5 separate regions of the Homo sapiens genome follow, and regions 1, 2, 3 and 4 are each linked to region 5. Evidence: promoter capture Hi-C in human tissues and cell types (Jung and others, 2019). All regions are on one chromosome and are shown on one strand. Each heading gives the region's core, a stretch centred on a gene start or on the middle of the fragment in contact. The rest is flanking DNA. Distances are from core to core; before and after follow the strand shown.

The links. Contacts are between HindIII fragments. The study calls those that stand out against the background at their distance.
Region 1: a fragment that was not itself captured here is called in contact with the fragment with the promoter of SAFB2 in region 5 in 3 of the 25 tissues and cell types used here (dorsolateral prefrontal cortex, liver and lymphoblastoid cells).
Region 2: the fragment with the promoter of PTPRS here is called in contact with the fragment with the promoter of SAFB2 in region 5 in 3 of the 25 tissues and cell types used here (adrenal gland, dorsolateral prefrontal cortex and mesenchymal stem cells).
Region 3: a contact is called between a fragment that was not itself captured here and the fragment with the promoter of SAFB2 in region 5, in 1 of the 25 tissues and cell types used here (lymphoblastoid cells).
Region 4: a contact is called between a fragment that was not itself captured here and the fragment with the promoter of SAFB2 in region 5, in 1 of the 25 tissues and cell types used here (dorsolateral prefrontal cortex).

What each region holds. Positions count from the first base shown.
Region 1 is chr19:5,309,063-5,312,568 of GRCh38, reverse strand. The region is part of intron 1 of PTPRS (protein tyrosine phosphatase receptor type S); the gene reads left to right. Among named protein-coding and RNA genes, the nearest start is that of PTPRS, 30 kb to the left of the region's middle. The HindIII fragment of the contact is 5,079 bases long and covers 1-3,506 here.
Region 2 is chr19:5,338,855-5,342,171 of GRCh38, reverse strand. It overlaps PTPRS (protein tyrosine phosphatase receptor type S), which reads left to right and starts at 1,360. Exons shown (of 38, transcript NM_002850.4): 1 at 1,360-1,508. RefSeq lists a silencer at 1,153-1,432 and an enhancer at 3,299-3,317. The HindIII fragment of the contact is 6,208 bases long and covers 1-3,317 here.
Region 3 is chr19:5,131,806-5,135,336 of GRCh38, reverse strand. It overlaps KDM4B (lysine demethylase 4B), which reads right to left. Exons shown (of 23, transcript NM_015015.3): 13 at 3,330-3,450; 14 at 1,276-1,454. Among named protein-coding and RNA genes, the nearest start is that of PTPRS-AS1, 44 kb to the left of the region's middle. The HindIII fragment of the contact is 6,554 bases long and covers 1-3,531 here.
Region 4 is chr19:5,175,697-5,179,190 of GRCh38, reverse strand. It overlaps PTPRS-AS1 (PTPRS antisense RNA 1), which reads right to left and starts at 1,445. Exons shown (of 1, transcript NR_186338.1): 1 at 727-1,445. RefSeq lists enhancers at 2,274-2,323, 2,334-2,423. The HindIII fragment of the contact is 3,308 bases long and covers 1-3,287 here.
Region 5 is chr19:5,621,276-5,625,037 of GRCh38, reverse strand. It overlaps SAFB2 (scaffold attachment factor B2), which reads left to right and starts at 2,262. Exons shown (of 21, transcript NM_014649.3): 1 at 2,262-2,508; 2 at 3,642-3,729. The coding sequence starts at 2,323. SAFB (scaffold attachment factor B) reads right to left here and starts at 1,955. Exons shown (of 21, transcript NM_001201338.2): 1 at 1,644-1,955. The coding sequence starts at 1,832. RefSeq lists enhancers at 793-1,524, 1,525-2,257, 2,178-2,517, 2,991-3,723 and silencers at 1,498-1,547, 2,518-2,637, 3,642-3,762. The HindIII fragment of the contact is 5,746 bases long and covers 1-3,762 here.

The sequences.
Region 1 (3,506 bases), core at 567-3,066, 310 kb after region 5:
CTGCCTTGGCCTCTCAAGTGGCTGGGACTACAGGCATGCGCCACCACGCCTGGCTAATTTTTGTATTTTTTTGTAGAGGTAAGGTCTCATTATGTTGGCCAGGCTGGTCTCGAACTCCTGGGCTCAAGCAATCCTCCTGCCTCAACCTCCCAAAGCACTAGGGTACAGGTGTGAGCCACCATGCCTGGCCCTGCTGCTATTATTATAGCATTTGCAAATATTGGCATATTGTGCTCACCTTCTCGTCCCACACATCCTATGCCCGCTGTCCCTGCCATGCTCTTTCACTGACAGTACCAGGACGCACACAGCCAGGGATGTCTTTTTCAGGGCTGCGTACTATGCATTCTTTTTCAGGGCTGTGTAGTATGCCATCTACATGCCCAGCCCCTCCTGACGGACATGCCCATTTGTCTCTCTCTTTTGCTTTCCTATGAGATGTGTTGCAGGGCTCGTTCACACACAGGCCTCACGCACAACCAGGAGATGTCATGTGGGATGCGTATTTCTTTCTTTTTTTTTTTTTTGAGACGGAGTCTCGCTGTGTCTCCCAGGCTGGAATGCAGTGGCGCACGATCTCGGCTCACTGCAAGCTCCGCCTCCCGGGTTCACGCCATTCTCCTGCCTCAGCCTCCCCAGTAGCTGGGACTACAGGTGCCTGCCACCCCGCCCGGCTAATTTTTTGTATTTTTAGTAGAGACGGGGTTTCACCATGTTAGCCAGGATGGTCTCGATCTCCTGACCTCGTGATCCACCCACCTCAGCCTCCCAAAGTGCTGGGATTACAGGCGTGAGCCACCGCACCCGGCCCAAGGGATGCACATTTCAATATTCACTCCCTCTCGCCCAGTTACCCTGCAGAGAGCATCTGCCATCTCCACCCCAGCCGCCAGCCAGGGAGCTCGGGTCTCCCCTGAACAGCTTTGATGAGACAGGAATGTTCTTTTTCTTTCCTTGGCTGCTCCCAAGATACTTATATCCCCACCCCCAGCCTCCACCCAGGGGATGGTTTCAGGTCTAAAATTTTCCTTCAGACCCCAAGGAAAGCTTCTGTGTGTTCAGAAAACAACCGTCGTGTCCTTTCTGGGCCCAGGACCCTGCTGGGGGCCTAGAGCTCCATCACTGGATACTTATTGAGCACCTCCTATATACCAGGCCCTGATCCTCACAGGGTCAGGTGTTGGGAACAGAGTGACGGAGAAGACAGAGGGAAAAACCCTTCCCTCGTGGAATGCATCAGAAGGACAATGAACAAATAGGGGCCGGGCGCAGTGGCTCAGCCTATAATCCCAGCACTTTAGGAGGCCAAGACGGGCAGATCGCCTGAGGTCAGGAGTTCGAGACCAGCCTGGCCAACATGGTGAAATCTCATCTCTACTAAAAATACAAAAGGCTGGGCACAGTGGCTCATGCCTGTAATCCCAGCACTTCGGGAGGCCGAGTCAGGTGGATCACGAGGTCAGGAGATCGAGACCATCCTGGCCAACAGGGTAAAACCCCGTCTCTACTTAAATAAAAAAAATTAGCTGGGCGTGGTGGCATGCACCTATAGTCCCAGCTACTCGGGAGGCTGAGGCAGGGGAATCGCTTGAACCAGGGAGGCAGAGGTTGCAGTGAGATCACGCCACTGCACGCCAGTCTGGAGACAAAGTGAGACTTGGTTTCATAATAATAATAATAAATAAAAATACAAAAATTAGCCGGGTGTGGTGGTACAAGCCTATAGTCCCAGCTACTCAGGAGGCTGAGGTGGGAGGATCACTTGAGCTGAGGAGTTCAAGGCTGCAGTGAGCTGAGATTGCGTCACTGCACTCCAGCCTGGGTGACAGAGTGAGACCCTGCCTCAAAAAACAAAAACAAGAAACACCCAAAAAACAAAAGCCATAAAGCCAATAGATTAAATATGTGTTAAGGATTGACTGTATGCCATGCCTTTAAGAAAAATAAAGTTGGCCAGGCGCAGTGGCTCATGCCTGCAATTTTAGCACTTTGGGAGGCCGAGGTGGGCAGATCACTTGAGGTCAGGAGTTTGAAACCAGCCTGGCCAACATGGTGAAACCCTGTCTCTACTAAAAATACAAAAATTAGCTGGGTATGGTGGTGGGCGCCTGTAATCCCAGCTACTCGGTAGGCTGAGGCAGGAGAATTGCTTGAACGGGGGAAGCGGAGGTTGTAGTGAGCCGAGATTGCGCCACTGCAGTCCAGCCTGGGTGATAGAGTAAGACTCCATCTCAAAAAAAAAAAAAAAAAGAAAAGAAAAAAGCTAGAGGAATTGGTTGGTGGCAGGGAGGGGCTGTTTTAGCTACAGAATCAAGACAGGCCTCACAGAAGAGGTGACATTTCAGTAAGACCAACAGGAATAAGAGAATGATGTTTGCTGACATCTGAGGGGAGGGTGTTCCAGGCAGAGGGCACAGCCCGTGCAAAGGCCCTGAGGCAGGACCGCACCTGGCATGTTGGAGGAACAGCGAGGAGGCCTGTGTGGCTGGAGCAGAGTGAGGAGGGGGAGGAGGGGAGGGGAGAGCAGGGAGAGGACAGAGCAGGTTGTGCAGGCCCTTGTGGGGCACCAGGAGGACTTGGGCGTTTACTCTGAGGGAGGTGGGAGCCAGGGAGGGCTATGGGCAAAGGAGGAACCAGCCCTGACCGACGTGTTCACAGGCGACCCCTGGCTGTTGCAGAAAGGACAGACTGTGGGGGATGAGTGCAGACGCTGGGGGACCAGAGCAGAGGGGACGGCACAGATCCAGGCCAGGGATGATGGGGGTGGACCAGGCAGGGGCAGAGGAGGGGTTGTATTCTAGAAGGATTTTGCAGAAGGGTTGGCTGGCTTCTCCAAGTGGTTGGCTGCAGGGTAGGGTTGAGATGAGTCAAGAACGACTCCCAGGCCTCTGTCCTGAACATCGGTAAAGACGGAGAAGATGAGCTGAGGTGGCGAAGATGGTGAGAGAGGCAGGCATGGAAACGCCCCCATTAGCAGGACGCCTGCGGAGGTTCCCAGGAAGTGGTGGGCTGGTTCTCCCTGGAGACATGGAGTTGGCAGCTCCTGACTTAGCCCATAGCGGGTTTTCAGGTGCTACAAGCAAGCCATTGGCTCTGGACAAGGCACATCCTATCCTCAGCCTCAGTTTCCCCATCTGAGATAAATAACTGGCACAACAAAACGAGTTAATATGCGTCAAGCACTTAGAGAGTGGCCTGCATAGACAGGGCCCTGGGAGGGGCTGTGGGCTACACACTTGGGGCTGGATGGGGCTAGAGGTTAGGACAGGAAGGGAGGTCTAATTTGCAGACCAGGGGGCTGAAGCCCAGAGAGGTTAAGGCACTTGCCCAAGGCCACACAGCACGTGGCACAGGCTCAACCCCACTAAGGGGCCTGCACACTCTGCTCACCACCAGAGCCAGCCAACCCCCCCTTCCTCCCTTCTCTCTCCACCCCCGGAGCTGCCAGCTCCAGTTTTTGGTGGTTTCCAGGCTCCCCTCAGTTCCCACTTGGCACTCACCTCCCA
Region 2 (3,317 bases), core at 111-2,610, 280 kb after region 5:
ATCCATTCTACAGATGGGGAAAGTGAGGCTCCGGGCCTCACACAGCAAATCAGTGTTTTAGCTGGGTTCCAACTGTGGCTCGTCCTGACTCCAGGGAAGCAGGGGATGGTAATTAGGTGAGACCTGTGTAAAGTGCTTACTCTATAAGAAGTGCTCCATCATCCATTCATTCATGTGTTCAACCTACAATAGGGATCTCTGGAGCCACACTGTAGTGTAACTAGAATAAAAACGGGATAATGGGACCAGGCGCGGTGGCTCACGCCTGTAATCCCAGCACTTTGGGAGGCCGAGGTGGACGGATCACTGAGGTCAGGAGTTCAAGACCAGCCTGGCCAACATGGTGAAACACTGTCTCTAACAAAAATACAAAAATTAGCCAGGCGTGGTGACAGCACGCCTGTAATTCCAGCTACTCCGGAGGCTGAGACAGGAGAATAGCTTGAATCCAGGAGGCGGAGGTTACAGTGAGCCGCGATCACGCCACTGCATTCCAGCCTGGGCGACAGAGTGAGACTCCGACTCAAAACCAAACAAACAACAACAACAACAACAAACCGGGATAATGGGATAGAGTGGAGTGGGGCGTGGCTGGTAGCTGTTGTCAGGGAGGGCTTCTCCCAGGCGCTGCTTATTTGAGCAGAAATTGGAAAGATGAGAAGGGGAAGTTCTTGGATGCTCAAGTTAGAGGAACTGTAAGAAGCTGGCTGAGGCGGGAGGATCACCCGAGCCCAACTACTCAGGAGGCTGAGGCGGGAGGATCACCTGAGCCCAGGAGTTTGAAGCTGCAGTGAGCTATGATCATACCACTGTACTGAGGCCCAGGTGGCAGACCCCATCTCTGAAAAAGCAAAGAAGGAGCAGCTGGTTTTTCTGGATCATTGACATGGTGGGGGGGAGGGGACAGGGTAGTGGGCGCTAATGTGAAACGGCGAGCTGCAGAGAGGAGGCGGGATTTTATTCCAAGGGTACTGGGGAGCCGTGGCACAGTTTAGGGCAGCGCACAGAAAGTGCCATGCCCTTTGCACCCAGGACGCTGGGGCTCCCGCACGGACAGTAGCCCCAGGGGCCCTTCCCGCCGCCGCCGCAGCCGCCACCACCACCACCACCCCAGCCGCCCACGTGTCCCGCGAAGCCCCGCGCCCCACGTGCTCCCGCGGCCCTTTAAACACCCCGGAGCCACGTGACCGCGCTGCGCCGTCCCATTGGCCGGGGGGCGTGGCGGCCGCGCGGCTGCGCAGTGACGCGCACGGGCCGGCCCTGCCCCCGACCCGGCGGCGGCGGCGGCGGCGCTGGCGGAAGGGATGACGTCACCGGCTGGGGGGGCGCGCGAGCGGGAGCTAGGGGAGCGCGAGCCGCAGTGAGTGTCCTCGCGCCGCCCGCCCGGCAGCCCGGCCGGCGCGCGCACGCCGCGAGCCGCTGGCGCTCGGGCTCCGCTCGGATCCCATGCAACAGCCACGATGTGAAGCGGGGCAGAGCCGGGGGAGCCCAGCCCAGCCAGCCTCCAGGTAAAGCCAAAAAAAAAAATAAAATCATGGATTAGAGGAAAAAAAAATGCAGGCGCTCCAAGGGGGGTCTCGGAGGCAGCCGAGTGGGCAGCGCGCCGGCTTTGTGCCGGGGAAGCCTGCACGGCCATTGTGCTCGGAGGATGCTCGGCTGCAGCCAGTTGCACGCCCAGCCGCTGCGCCCCGGTAGCTGCGCCCGGACAATGCCCCGAGGGACAGGGCCGGGGCCGCGCTGGGGGCGCTCGGCAGGGGGTGCTGGGGGGGCTTCGTCCGCGGCGTGGGAGGGGGCTGGGCTGGAAGCGCCCAGAGCGCGGCATTGGAAGCTGCCCAGCGCCGCCGGCTGCACCACCCCGGGCTGCGGGCGGGGCAGAGGCGCGGAGGGGGGCGCGCGTGTGTGCGGAGCCGGTGCCGGCCCCGGCGGCGCCCGGCCCGGGTCCCCGGGCGGGTCCTGGAGGCAGGGGGCGCTGTGCCGGGGGATGGGGGGCATGCGGGCGCCCCGGAGCGGAGAGGAGCCGGGACGGGTGGCTCCAGGCGGGGTGGCTCCAGGGCTGCTGCGCCCGCCGCCTTCCCTCTCCGGGTCTCCCTCCCCTGGAGACCCCCTAGTCTACGCCGTCTCCCCTGGAACACTCCGGGCCCTGTCGTTGCCTTATGGGAGGTCGCCCCTCCGGCACTCGGGCATTGCCCCACCCTTCTGCGGCCTCGGCGCCCCCTTCCAGCCTCCCCACCCAGGGGCGAGCCTCAGCCCCCAGCCCCAGGGGCTCTGGCAGGCAGACGCGCACGCCCAGCACCCCAGTCTCCCCTCCGCGCTGGGGGCCCCGTGGGGATCCCGAGAGTGGGGAAGCCGCCCCTGGAACCGCCAGCCCCGCGGGTTCCGCACGCCCCGGGAGCCCCCGGGGGCTGCGGGGGGAGGGGAGGTGACGTCATACCGGGGGCGGGGCCGTCGGCACTGGGTTAAAGGGGGCGCGGGGCGTGCCCTGAGGGGAGCCCCCCAGGTTAGAGTGCCCGCGCCGTGGGTGCGAGGGTTCGGCCAGGTTGCGGCCAAGTTCACCTCTCTTTATGGGAATCTCTCCTAAAATTAAGATCCTCCCCTTCGGACCTCCCCCTACAAATCCTGGACATTTCCCACCAATTCCCCCCCTTCCCAAATTGGGGAACTCCCCTTCGGCCGCTTTCTCTCCAGAATCCTCAAATCAGGGAACCTTTCCCACAAACTGGGAATCTTTTTTTCAGCCACACCCCCCGCCCCAAATCTGGGACCTCCTTCTTCGGTTGACCCTCTTTCCCCAGTCTCAAATCGTCTTCTCGTCTCCCTAAATATGCAGCTTCCAAGAACGCCCCTTCCTCTGCAACCCTTCCTCAAATCCAGCCACCTCCTGGGACCTCATTCCCCCAAATTAACAAACCTCCCAGAGCCTCATTGGGGGTGCCTTGCCTCCCCCTTCTGGGCTCAGCTGGGATTCCCCTGTCCCCCCCCGTCACAATCTAGGGGAGCCCCCTTCTGAGCATGGGGTCCTCCTGCCTCTGGCCGAGACCCTAAAAACACATCCCGGCAGCCGCGGCTAGTGAAGCGGGTGTCCGAGGTGTCGGAGTCCCGGCTGAGCAGCAGGGATGATACCTAGAAGCCGGAGGAGGCAGGAAGAGACCCCTAGGGTCCCAAGGACAGGGACCCACACGCTCCGGGCTCCCGTCCGCCACCACCCGGACTTTGGCTGCTGGGATTCTGGCCTCCTCTGGGTGGCCCCCTATCGCTGCTGTCCTTGGGGTGCAGAGGGTGACGGCGCCTCTTTGTCTGGGGCGCCCTTCTTCCCTCTT
Region 3 (3,531 bases), core at 294-2,793, 490 kb after region 5:
GTAGGGGAGAGGCGACCTTCAGGGGACAGAGCCATGTGTGGGGCAGGCGGGCGGGCGGCGCGGACCTCTCTCAGGGCACCTGCCCCAGGCTTCGACACCCCCTGGCTCTGGAGGGGGAGGTCGGGGAGATGGCCAGAGCCACCTCGGCCCCTCTTCTCACTCCTCCAGAAAGTCAGGATCCCCAAACACTGTCTGACCCTGTCCCCAACCCGCCGAAGACCTTCCCATGAGGGTTGCATCCAGACACAGAGCTCAGGCTGGCCTGTGTGGCCCCTGGTGCTGGGTGGCCCCTGGCGCTGGGGTATGCTGGGGGTGGTGTGTGATGAACGAGTCTCCACACTCTGCCTGGCAAGGGGAATTAGGAAGACGCATGTCTGAAGTGGCATTCCAGGCCCTGTGGCTCCCAGCAGCCTCTCTGGCCTCACAAAGGACAGCAAGTGCCTGGAGACGGTGTCGGCTGTCAGGTCTTGTTTGTCTCAGGAACCAGAGCACTAAATCCAGCTCCCAGCAGCAGAGCCCCAAGACAGGCTCACCACCCTCGGCACAGCACTCTCCCTGGCTCTGTCCACCCAGACCCGGCCGGCGCACAGGCCTGGGGGGTGACGTCCCCAACCCAGGGCAGCTCTGCTGATGCCTGGACATGCTTGGCATGGGGCTAGGAGCTGGGAGTGCAAAGCATGTGGCCAGGTCCTGTCCTGGGGAGGCTGCATGCCCAGGGGAAGAGAGAAGGGGGGATCTAAGAGATCCGAGGAAAACGGCTGGGCTGGGTGCTGATGCCTGGGATGGCCGTGGGCAGAGGCCAGCTCCCCATCTGGGTGCAGAGGACAGGCGAGGCCAGCATGGAAAGAGCACCAGAAACAGGACCTTAGCCAGGTGCCCAGCTCAGCTAGACAGGCCAGGGTTTGCGGGAGCCCCGCCCGGCCACCCAGGTGGTGTACCTGGGCCTTCACTGCACTCCCACACCACCCGGCCCATCTCAGCGCCCACCAGACACGGGCGCTCCCTGAGGGCAGTGACCCCGAGCCTCCGCAGCCTCCCTCTGCCCCATCCACCATGGCTCATGTTGCACATGGGCACGTTAGTAAGCTTCATTCCAATAAAACCCAGAGACCAGGCTCTGCCTACGGCTGTCAGGAACAAGCCCTCACAACTCGGGGTGCTGGCCAACACCCTGCCCTGCGTGAGAGAGGGAGGCGTGTGGGGTGCCCGGTCCCTCGCCCTCTCCCACCGCCCCTGCCTGGGGTTCTCTGGGACCCGTGAGGCCCGCCTGCCCACCTGGCAGTAGGGGTAGAAGAGCGTGCAGATGGCGCAGTAGGGCTCCGTGCGCGCAGCCGCTGCGTTGAACTTCCTCTCGGCCTGGAAGCTGGCCGCCCTGTTCTTCCACTGCAGAGACAGCAGCGGCCTCAAGGCGTCCGGGTCACTCACATCTTCCTCCCCGGAGAAAGGGGATGCCTCTAGAAGAACAGAGGGGAGAGGGAGAGAGACACTTGAGCCCCCTAAAAACTCGTCCAAGGAATCACCCCAACTGCCCAGGGGATGGCCCCGGGTCTACAGCCCTGGCTGCCCACAGGGTCCCTGGCCCATAGCTCCCCCTCCACCTGCCTCCTGGCTGCCCCATTCTCCACAATGCCCATCAAGCTGACACTGCAGCGTCCCATCCCATCAACAGGAGGGGGACACGTCTGTCTCGGCTGACTGCCACCTGAGGCCAGAGCCCCCAAACATGGTTCCTCTGAGCCCCTCCCCCAACACCTGGTTCTCCCTGGACATCCAGAGCCGTCCACTCACCCAGGGCCTTCTGGGCCAAGGACTGGCCAAACTCAGTGCCCAGCCCTGCCCCGGCTGCCCTACACCCGTCCTGGGGTCTGAGTCTGAGTGGGGGCGTCGGCAGTGACCAGCCGAGACTCAGAGACACTGTCCTTCCTGTCTTAGGTGGGCACAGACTCACTGAACTCAAGGGAGGTGCCAGAGGAGTGCGACAGGGAGTCAGGAGGGGCCGTGACCAGGGCTAGGAAGCCAAGGCAGCCCGCCCCAGGAAGAGCTGCGTGACGGGGACACTCTCCCGGAAGGCAGGTCTGCTGCTGAGAAGCCGCGGCGGTCTCTCTCCCACCTGTTGCCTGTTCCCATTGAACTCTAATGGCCTCCATTGCCAGCTGCCGCACCCCAATCTCCCCACGTCCCCTCCCTGCATCTCCTGTGGACACAGGGGTGCTGTCCCCAGGAAGTGGGGTGCCCACTCCTGTGGCCCAATCCTCAGCCCAACCTAAAGGGGAGCCTGGGGTCCTGGGATCAGCCCAGCTGTGGCACTGCCCCTGGTTCACCTAGAGGAGGGCAGGGCAGGGCAGGGCAGGCTCCCCGAGGTGGAGGCCCAGGTCTCCCATGGTGGACTCAGGAAGCCCTTAGGCCAAGACTCCTCTGAAAACCCAAACCAGACAGTACCGCCAGCGGAGCCCAGGGAAGGCCCTAAGCGGCCCCGAGGCCCTGGGGATGAGAACAGAGCCACTGGCTGCGTCTGTCACTCACAACCCCAGAATGCCTGGGGTTCTGGGGCCGTGATGGTCTCACAGGCAAATGCTCCGGTCTCACCAAAGGGTCACAGTGGGGTGTGGGGAGTGGGGGAGTCCACGGAGGCCCCAGAGATGCCTTCTGGAAGGATACCTGGGTAGAAGGCAAGACCCCTTCCCAAGCCAGCCCGCGGGGGCCCCTGGTCATTCCTCTGTCCCCGTGCCGATTCCTCCACTCCTGGGAGCTCCCGCCCTGTGATCCCACGCGCTTCTAGAACCCTCCTCTCCCCACCCCTCCAATTGCATGCAGGATGAAAGACGCCATCCAGACCATTTTCAGATTCTACATGCATCCCCAATGAAAGGCCGAAGCAGAAGTTGAAAAACTGGCTTAGCAGGACTTCTGCACACAAGACAGCAGCTCTCGGCTGAGGGTTAAATCGAAGATTCCATCTCCTCCCCTCCCACTCAAAGCTTCGCGGGAGCCTTTTGTTCCAACCTCTCCAAGTCCTGGAGAGGCCTGTGCTCAGCCCTGGGAGGAATCTTCCATGGGGAGGTACAAGCTCCCCAGCCCTGAACCGCCCATCATGGGCAGCCCAGCCAGCAGAGCAGAGCCGAGCATCTCTAACAGCAGCTGCCTCCCCGCACGACCACCTGCCCCAGTGACAGCCTGTCGCTACGGCAGAGCCACAGAAAGGCCTGGGTTCAGGGGAGGAGACCCAGGAAGTGGGGGAAGGAAGCCGCAGGGGAGCCAGGCCCCCCCTCCAGCAGCAGCAGAGCGCGGAGCAGGGCTGATGAGAGCCGACCTGGGGACCCCCCACTCACCCTCGTCACTTGAGGCCTCCTGCTTCACCACCGACAGTGGGGACCGGGTGGGCGGCCGGCCCAGGGGATGGCGCCGGCTCTTCTTGATCTCCATCTTCAATTTGGAAAATGTGGACGGTGCCTGAAACACACAACAGGCTGTAGTGAGGGCCCCGCTACAGACCCCTGGGTGGGGCTCCCTCGGAGCCACACAGGGGCTCGG
Region 4 (3,494 bases), core at 384-2,883, 450 kb after region 5:
TGAGGCTTCATGGAGAAAGATGTCTCTTCCTTTTAGAGACCAGGTCTCACTCTGTTGCTCAGGCTGGAGTGCAGTGGCATAATCGCAGCCGTCCTTAGCACCTAGGGCACCCAGAGAGATGGGCATCAGGAGGCATGGAAGGCTTCCTGGAGGAAGCAACATCCAAGCTGAATGCAGGAGGAGAGGGCGGGGTTGCCTGTAGTCCCAGCTGCTCAGGAAGCTGAGGTGGGAGGATTGCTTGAGCCTTGGAGGTCCAGGCCACAGTGAGCTATGATCATGTCACTGCACTCCAGCCTGGGCAACAGAGCAAGACTCCATCTCAAAGAAAATTGCATAAATGAAAGAATGAGCAAAAGCTTGAATATTATTAAAAATTGTTTTAACGTAGAAACATTTTTAGTCTATGGGCCATACAAAATCAGGCAGTGGACTGAATGTGGCCCAGGGACCAGAGTTTGCTAACCCTTGTTCTATTTTGTTAAAGTGTTGGTAACTGAAGTGTTTATATGTACAAAAGCCATCGAATTGTATGCTTGCAGTTAGAGCACTGTCTTGTTTTGTTTTGTTTTTTGAGGTGGAGTCTAGCTCTGTCGTCCAGGCCGGAGTGCAGTGGTGCCATCTTATCTCAGCTCACTGCCACCTCCGCCTCCCAGGTTCAAGAGATTCTTAAGCTTCATCCTCCTGAGTAGCTGGGATTACAGGCACCTGCCACCATGCCTGCCTAAGTTTTGTATTTTTAGTAGAGAGGGGGTTTTGCCACGTTGGCCAGGTTGGTCTGGAATTCTTGACCTCAGGGGATCCACCTGCCTTGGCCTCCCAAAATGCTGGGATTACAGGCATGAGCCACAGAGCCTAGCCTGATTTTTTTTTTTAATGACGGTGATGATGATGACGACGATAGATCTGTGATATAAGCTCGGCCCGTCTGTTCCCTGGAACAGCATCTGAGCATTCTGACTCACAAATTGCATGGATGCTTGGGCTACCATTGCGGGAGAATCAGCAGGAAAGGAGAGGACAAGCAGCCCCCCATAGCCGCACCTTGAAGCCTCACCACCACCACCCCCGCCCCGGCAAGAACAGTGGACACAGGAGACCTTTCCACAGAAATGCCCAGACACACAGCAAACGCTTTTTAATCCAACAGCCGCAATGGCAGAGGAGATATTAGTTTCCTGTAAGATTCGACTCAATTAATTAGTTCCCAAATATCAGCCTATCCAGGCAAGCAAAGGAAAACAGAGATAAGTCCCAGCCCAGCCTTGCTTCATCTTTTAAAGGCAATTAACTCTTAGTTATTAGCTTTTAATTAGGGAGTAATAATGGCCTCGTTAATACGTTTTATTATACTTGTCACCAGGCAGCTGTTCCAAACAGAACCTATTATCAGATGGTGATGGCCCCGGTGTCAACCGCACTGATGCCGAGGCCGGGGCTCAGAGGCTGCCCTGTGCTCCTTCTCCAGGGGGGCAGGGCTGGACCATGAGCCCCACCTGATGCTATCATTGTGACCCTTTTCAAGTGATCCCCAGGCCCTCTAGGGTCTCTTGATTTCCACTCCTGTCCCCTGTGATAAACCGAAGGTCCTGTCTGGGTCATCCTGCTGCCCTACCATGGCTGTTTCAGACACACCAGCTGCCACTAATGACCCTGACGGCTTCCCTCACCTATGCTGGGTCTGGTCTCCCCTCTGTCCTATGATTAGGTACAAGGACAGCCACTGCCACTCTTTTCTTTTCTTTTCTTTCTCTCTCTTTCTTTCTCTTTCTCTTTTTCTTTCTTTCTTTCTTCTTTCCTTTCTTTCTTTCTTTCTTTCCTCTCTATTTCTTTTCTTTTTTGTTTTCAGGGTCTCATTTTGTCACCCAGGCTGGAGTGCCATGGTGCAATCTCAGCTCACTGCAGCCTCGACTTCCTGAGCTAAAGAGATCCTCTCGCCTCAGCTGCACAAGTAGCTGAGACTACAGACCCATGCCATACACCCAGCTAATTTTTTTTTCTTTTTTTTGAGACAGAGTCTGGCTCTTGTTGCCTAGGCTGGAGTGCAGTGGCCTGATCTCAGCTCACTGCAACCTCTGCCTCCCAGGCTCAAGCAATTCTCCTGCTTCAGCCTCCTGAGTAGCTGGTATTACAGGCATGTGTCACAACGCCTGACTAATTTGTGCACTTTTAGTACAGACGGGGTTTCCCCATGTTGGCCAGGCTGGTCTTGAAATCCTGACCTCGGGTGATCCGCCCGCCTCGGCCTCCCAAAGTGCTGAGCCACCACGCCCGGCTGTTTTTGTTTTGTTTTGTTTTGTTTTGTTCTTGTTTGTTTGTTTTGTATTTTTGGTAGAGATGGGGTTTCATTATGTTGTCCAGGCTGGTCTCAAACTCCTGGACTCAGGCGATCCAGGTGCTGGGATTACAAGCCTCCCAAAGTGCTGGGATTACAAGAGTGAGCCACCACATCTGGCCGATTGCCACTTTCTTTCTTTTTTTGAGACAGAGTCTTGCTCTGTCGCCCAGGCTGGAGGGCAATTGTGCAATCTCAGCTCACTGCAATGTCTGCCTCCCAGGTTCAAGCGATTCTCCTGCCTCAGCCTCCTGAGTAGCTAGGATTACAGGCATGCACCACCACCACCACCACGCCCAGCTAATTTTTTGTATTTTTAGTGGAGATGGGGTTTCATGGTGTTAGCTAGAATGGTCTCGATCTCCTAACCTCGTGATCTGCCTGCCTCAGCCTCCCAAAGTATTGGGATTACAGGCGTGAGCCACCACACCCGGCCCAATTGCCCCTTTCTTTAGCAAAGTTCCCATGCTGGAAATCACCTTACCATAGGTGTCCCTGGTAGGAGAAAGTTCCATGAGACTGAGTGAAATTGGAGGGTAAAATATCACAAGATACCCACAAAGAGCTGTGTGCATGAATGAGTTCACAGTTGCTCCAACTGCAATTGCCAAATGTCCATCAACTGGTAAATGTATAAACACACTGTGGCCCATCAATACAATGGAATACTACACAGCAATGAAAAAGGACTGCACTTTAGAAACATGGCTGTTGTTGGCCGGGCGTGGTGGCTCATGCCGGTAATCCCAGCACTTTGGGAGGCCGAGGCGGGCGGATCACAAGGTCAAGAGATCGGGACGATCCTGGCTAACAAGGTGAAACCCCGTCTCTACCCAAAATACAAAAATTAGCAGGGCGTGGTGGTGGGTGCCTGTAGTCCCAGCTACTTAGGAGGCTGAGGCAGGAGAATGGTGTGAACCCAGGAGGCAGAGCCTGCAGTGAGCCGAGATTGCACCACTGCACTCCAGCCTGGGCAACAGAGTGAGACTCCGTCTCAAAAAAAAAAAAAAAAAAGAAAGAAACATGGCTGTTTTGGGGTGAATCTGAAATGCATTGCACCAAGGGAAAGAAGCCAGACACAAATGGTGACATTCTGCACAATTCCATTTATATGAAGTGCTAAACATGTAATTCTCACTGATAGTTGGAGAAAACAGATCCG
Region 5 (3,762 bases), core at 1,013-3,512:
GCGAGTGATGGGAAGTCTCAGTCACCAGCTTGACAGGAAGATCACAGCAGCTTTTCAGGCCTATGGACCGTCCAGGGAGAAAAAAAGGATAAAGCCTCTTAATTTGGCTTAGCTGATGGGAGGCCCTGGTGGCGGGGCACCACACCTGACCAGCCGCCAATCTCCACTCTCTGCATTTTCTCTGGGTAAATATGTAGATCAGTGGGCTTCCTGCCTTATCTGAGTAAAGAGAATCCATAGTGAAAAGAAACACAAGCTTGAGCTTTTAAAAGGCCCATGTGACTCTGGCCGAGACAACTATCCACCCTTGAGCCCAGGGTTTCTCATCAGGAAAAAAAAAAAAAAAAAAATCCCTACTTCTTCTCATCACCAATTAATAATAAAGCCCTGTGATCTCCGTAGTTCCGGAGTCAGGATGGTGGGATGTGTCAACAGCCCCACTGCCTGCAGGGGCTGGGGGGTGGGCGGCCAGGCGGAGCAACTACAGGGGAGAGGTCCCAGAGTAGCCAGGTGGAAAAAAGGCAGAGAAAAAAAGCTACAGGAATAAGGAAACCGCAGGTGGCTAACCTTTACTTGCCTCTCTGCTTTTCCTAGGGATCCCTTTGAATCCCCCAAGGGAGGCGTTAGAGCCCCCGATCTGCAAATGAGGACTCGTGGTGGCACAGAGAGGAAAAGCGAATCGTGATGGCAACCACACACCGAGTGTTTACATGCGCCAGGCAGCACGCCAAGCCTGCTCCACGCAAACTTATTTAATCCCCAAATCAAAGTCCTATTGCTTTTTTGCTTCTTACAGGAGAAAAAAAAAAAAAAAGAATAGAAAAGAGGACTCAGAAGGGGTTCAAGGTCTCCTATGCCCAAGATCAGGCCACCGAGAGCTGGCAGGGTCCCCAAGTCCAGAGAGACTGACGGAGCTGGGGGAGCCCAGGCTCTGCCCGCCTCCCGGGCAGTTCTGAGGCTGGTTTTAAAGTCCACCCGGGGTCTCCCCTCATTTCACATTTCTGATCACTACCGTCAACACCACTTTTCCTTCCTGCCACGTTACTTCACCGAGCGAGTACCGGCAAACCGTGAAAACTGGATTGTGGTGGGTTTTTTTCTATTTTTCCCTTTGAGTATGTCCTACGGGTGTTTCCTTTGTAAATCAGCCCCGATTCAGGCTGGTCGGTCCCCTGTGGGTCACAAAGCATCTTCCCTGGGGAAACCAAGCAGCCGAATCAGGAATCCCAGGGCCTGGGTTCAAATCCCGACGCTGCCCGTCCTCGGCCGTGTGACCTTGGCCGAGTCCCTTCCCCTCGCCTGGGAAGTGAGGGTTTCAGGGTCTCCCCTCCAGGTACGGAGGAGGGGACGAGACGAGGGGAGAACCCTCCTCTCAGTGGACGATGTCACCCGTCACCGTTTCTCCTGCACGCGTGCCGTTTTTGTGGTTCTCCTGGCCCCATTGCGGCGTTAGGATTTGAACCCAGGCCCAGCCGGCCAAGGAACTCTCTCCGGGGCCTCGGAGGAGCCGGGGGACGCGAGAGCGCCAGGTCCGGCGAGGCCGCGAACGCGGCCGGGGGCGGACGCCAGGGCCCGCGAGCCACCGTCGCGGCCAAGAGGACCCCAGACCCACCCTGTGCCCGCCCTCGGGGCCCCAAATCCACCTTCTTCAGCCGCTCCATCAAAACGCTCTTGTTGCCGCTCGAGTCCACATTCCGTTTCCTCAGCTCCGCCCGCAGATCGATCACTCGCAGGTCGCTGAGGCGCCGCGTCCCGGTCTCTGACGAGGCGGAGCTCAGAGCCGCCGCGCCCGCCGCTCCAGAATCACCTAGGCCTGACAGAGTCTCCGCCATTCCAGGGACCCTGGCTCCGCCGCCCACTTTCCACAGAACCGGGCCGGTTTTATCAGGCTCCTAGCACAAAATGGCGCCGCCTGCGAGGGAACCGCTCCAGTCGCCCCAGCGCGCCTCGCTTCTGCGCAGGCGCACCAAGCGTAGGTTCTAGTATCCCGGTTGCAACTGCACATGCGCAGTGAGAACAACGCGGGGATGTGCGCAGACGCGTTGCGTCTCGTCAGCCTCCCGCCGGGAACTGCCGGGACGCATGCGAGCTGCAGATTCAGCGCTTGCGCGTTGTGCCGGGGAACCCGCGGTTGGTGGACGCGCGAGCGTCCTTGCTGCTAAGTACGCTAGTGGGGGCGGTGCGCGTGCGCGTGCGCGGCCGCAAAGCGGGGCGGGAGGAAACGAGTGCGTTTTCCTCTTAGGCGGCGCCATTTTGTGTTCAGAGCCGCTATAGCTGCCGGCGGTGTGCGACTGAGTCGGTGGCGAAGACGGGAACGCGACGATGGCGGAGACTCTGCCCGGGTCGGGCGACTCGGGCCCTGGCACGGCTTCTCTCGGCCCGGGCGTTGCGGAGACTGGGACGAGGCGGCTCAGCGAGCTGCGGGTGATCGATCTGCGGGCGGAGCTGAAGAAGCGGAACCTGGACACGGGCGGCAACAAGAGCGTCCTGATGGAGCGGCTCAAGAAGGTGAGGCGGCGCGGGGCTCGGGGGTGGCGCAGGAGGCCCGGGCACGCCCCCGCCTGCACCTGTCACCGCGGCTCCCGGACCCGGGGCGCCCTGGGTTCGCCCCGCGTCTTGGCCGACCCCGGTTCGAGGTGTCGGGCACCCAGGGGGCCGGCTGTGTGACCTTGGCCCGTCACCGCTCCTCTCTGTGCCTCCCTTCCTATCCTCTTTCCACCTTTTCTCCTCAAGCGCGCTCAGCGTGCGGTCTTCTCCGCTACCAGGGTGGCCCCGGGACCCCTCCTGGGGCTCCCGATCGAGCCTTGGCTCTGTGACCTTGGGCAGGTGCCTTTCTCTCTGTGCCTCAGTTTCCTCCTCCGGAGAATGGGTGTCTGGCGGACTCCAGAGCATTTACAGGAAAGGGGGCGGTGCTTGTTCTTGCCCCAGGGCTTTGGCCTTTACGAAGCTGTCCACCCGGGTCCCCCAGATCTTCTCGTGGCCGGCCCCTTGTTGTCATTTTGGGTCTGCCTGAGACATCACCTTCCTGAGCGCCCTTCCTAATGCGCTGCCCCACCTCCTTGCCAGCTCATCCTGCGTTTGTGTCGCACCTCGCTGAAAGCAGGGGCTAAATGCAAAATATTAAGGGGTTGGGAATTGTCTGTTTCCGCAACTGGAACAAACAACTTGAGCATAGGGAGGGAGCTTGTGGGTACCCAGTCCTGGACCCGGCAGGTGGCAGGCACTGAGGGACCTGTTGAATCTCCCCAGGCTGGCTGCTGTTCCTCCTCACCAGCGGTGGCCAGCCCTTCACCGAGGCCGGGCCAAGTGCAGCCTCTCTGTTCTAATTTGTCCCATCATATAACTTTAAAGTCGAAGGTTTGGCATTGTCGAGTTGAGTTGCCATTTTGGAACTGGTCCTTGACCCCAATTCTGGAGCTCCTGCTCACAGCCTCCCTCTCCTTTGTCATTTGGACCCAGAGAGACCCAAGTTGTGCGGGGTTCCTCCTCCGCCTTTTGGGCTTGCGGCCCAGATAGCTGACCCGGAGTTGCTCTTTGCAAGGACGGGTTTGCCTTTGTTTCATGGGAGGTTGTTACTTGTAAGGAACAGTGTGTGCCCTGCAGCTCTTAATGATGTTGTAAAACTCATCTCTCCCTAATAGGCGGTTAAAGAAGAGGGGCAAGATCCTGATGAAATTGGCATCGAGTTAGAAGCCACCAGCAAGAAGTCAGCCAAGAGATGTGTTAAAGGTATTGTACATATGCTGCTTGGGGCTTGAGTGT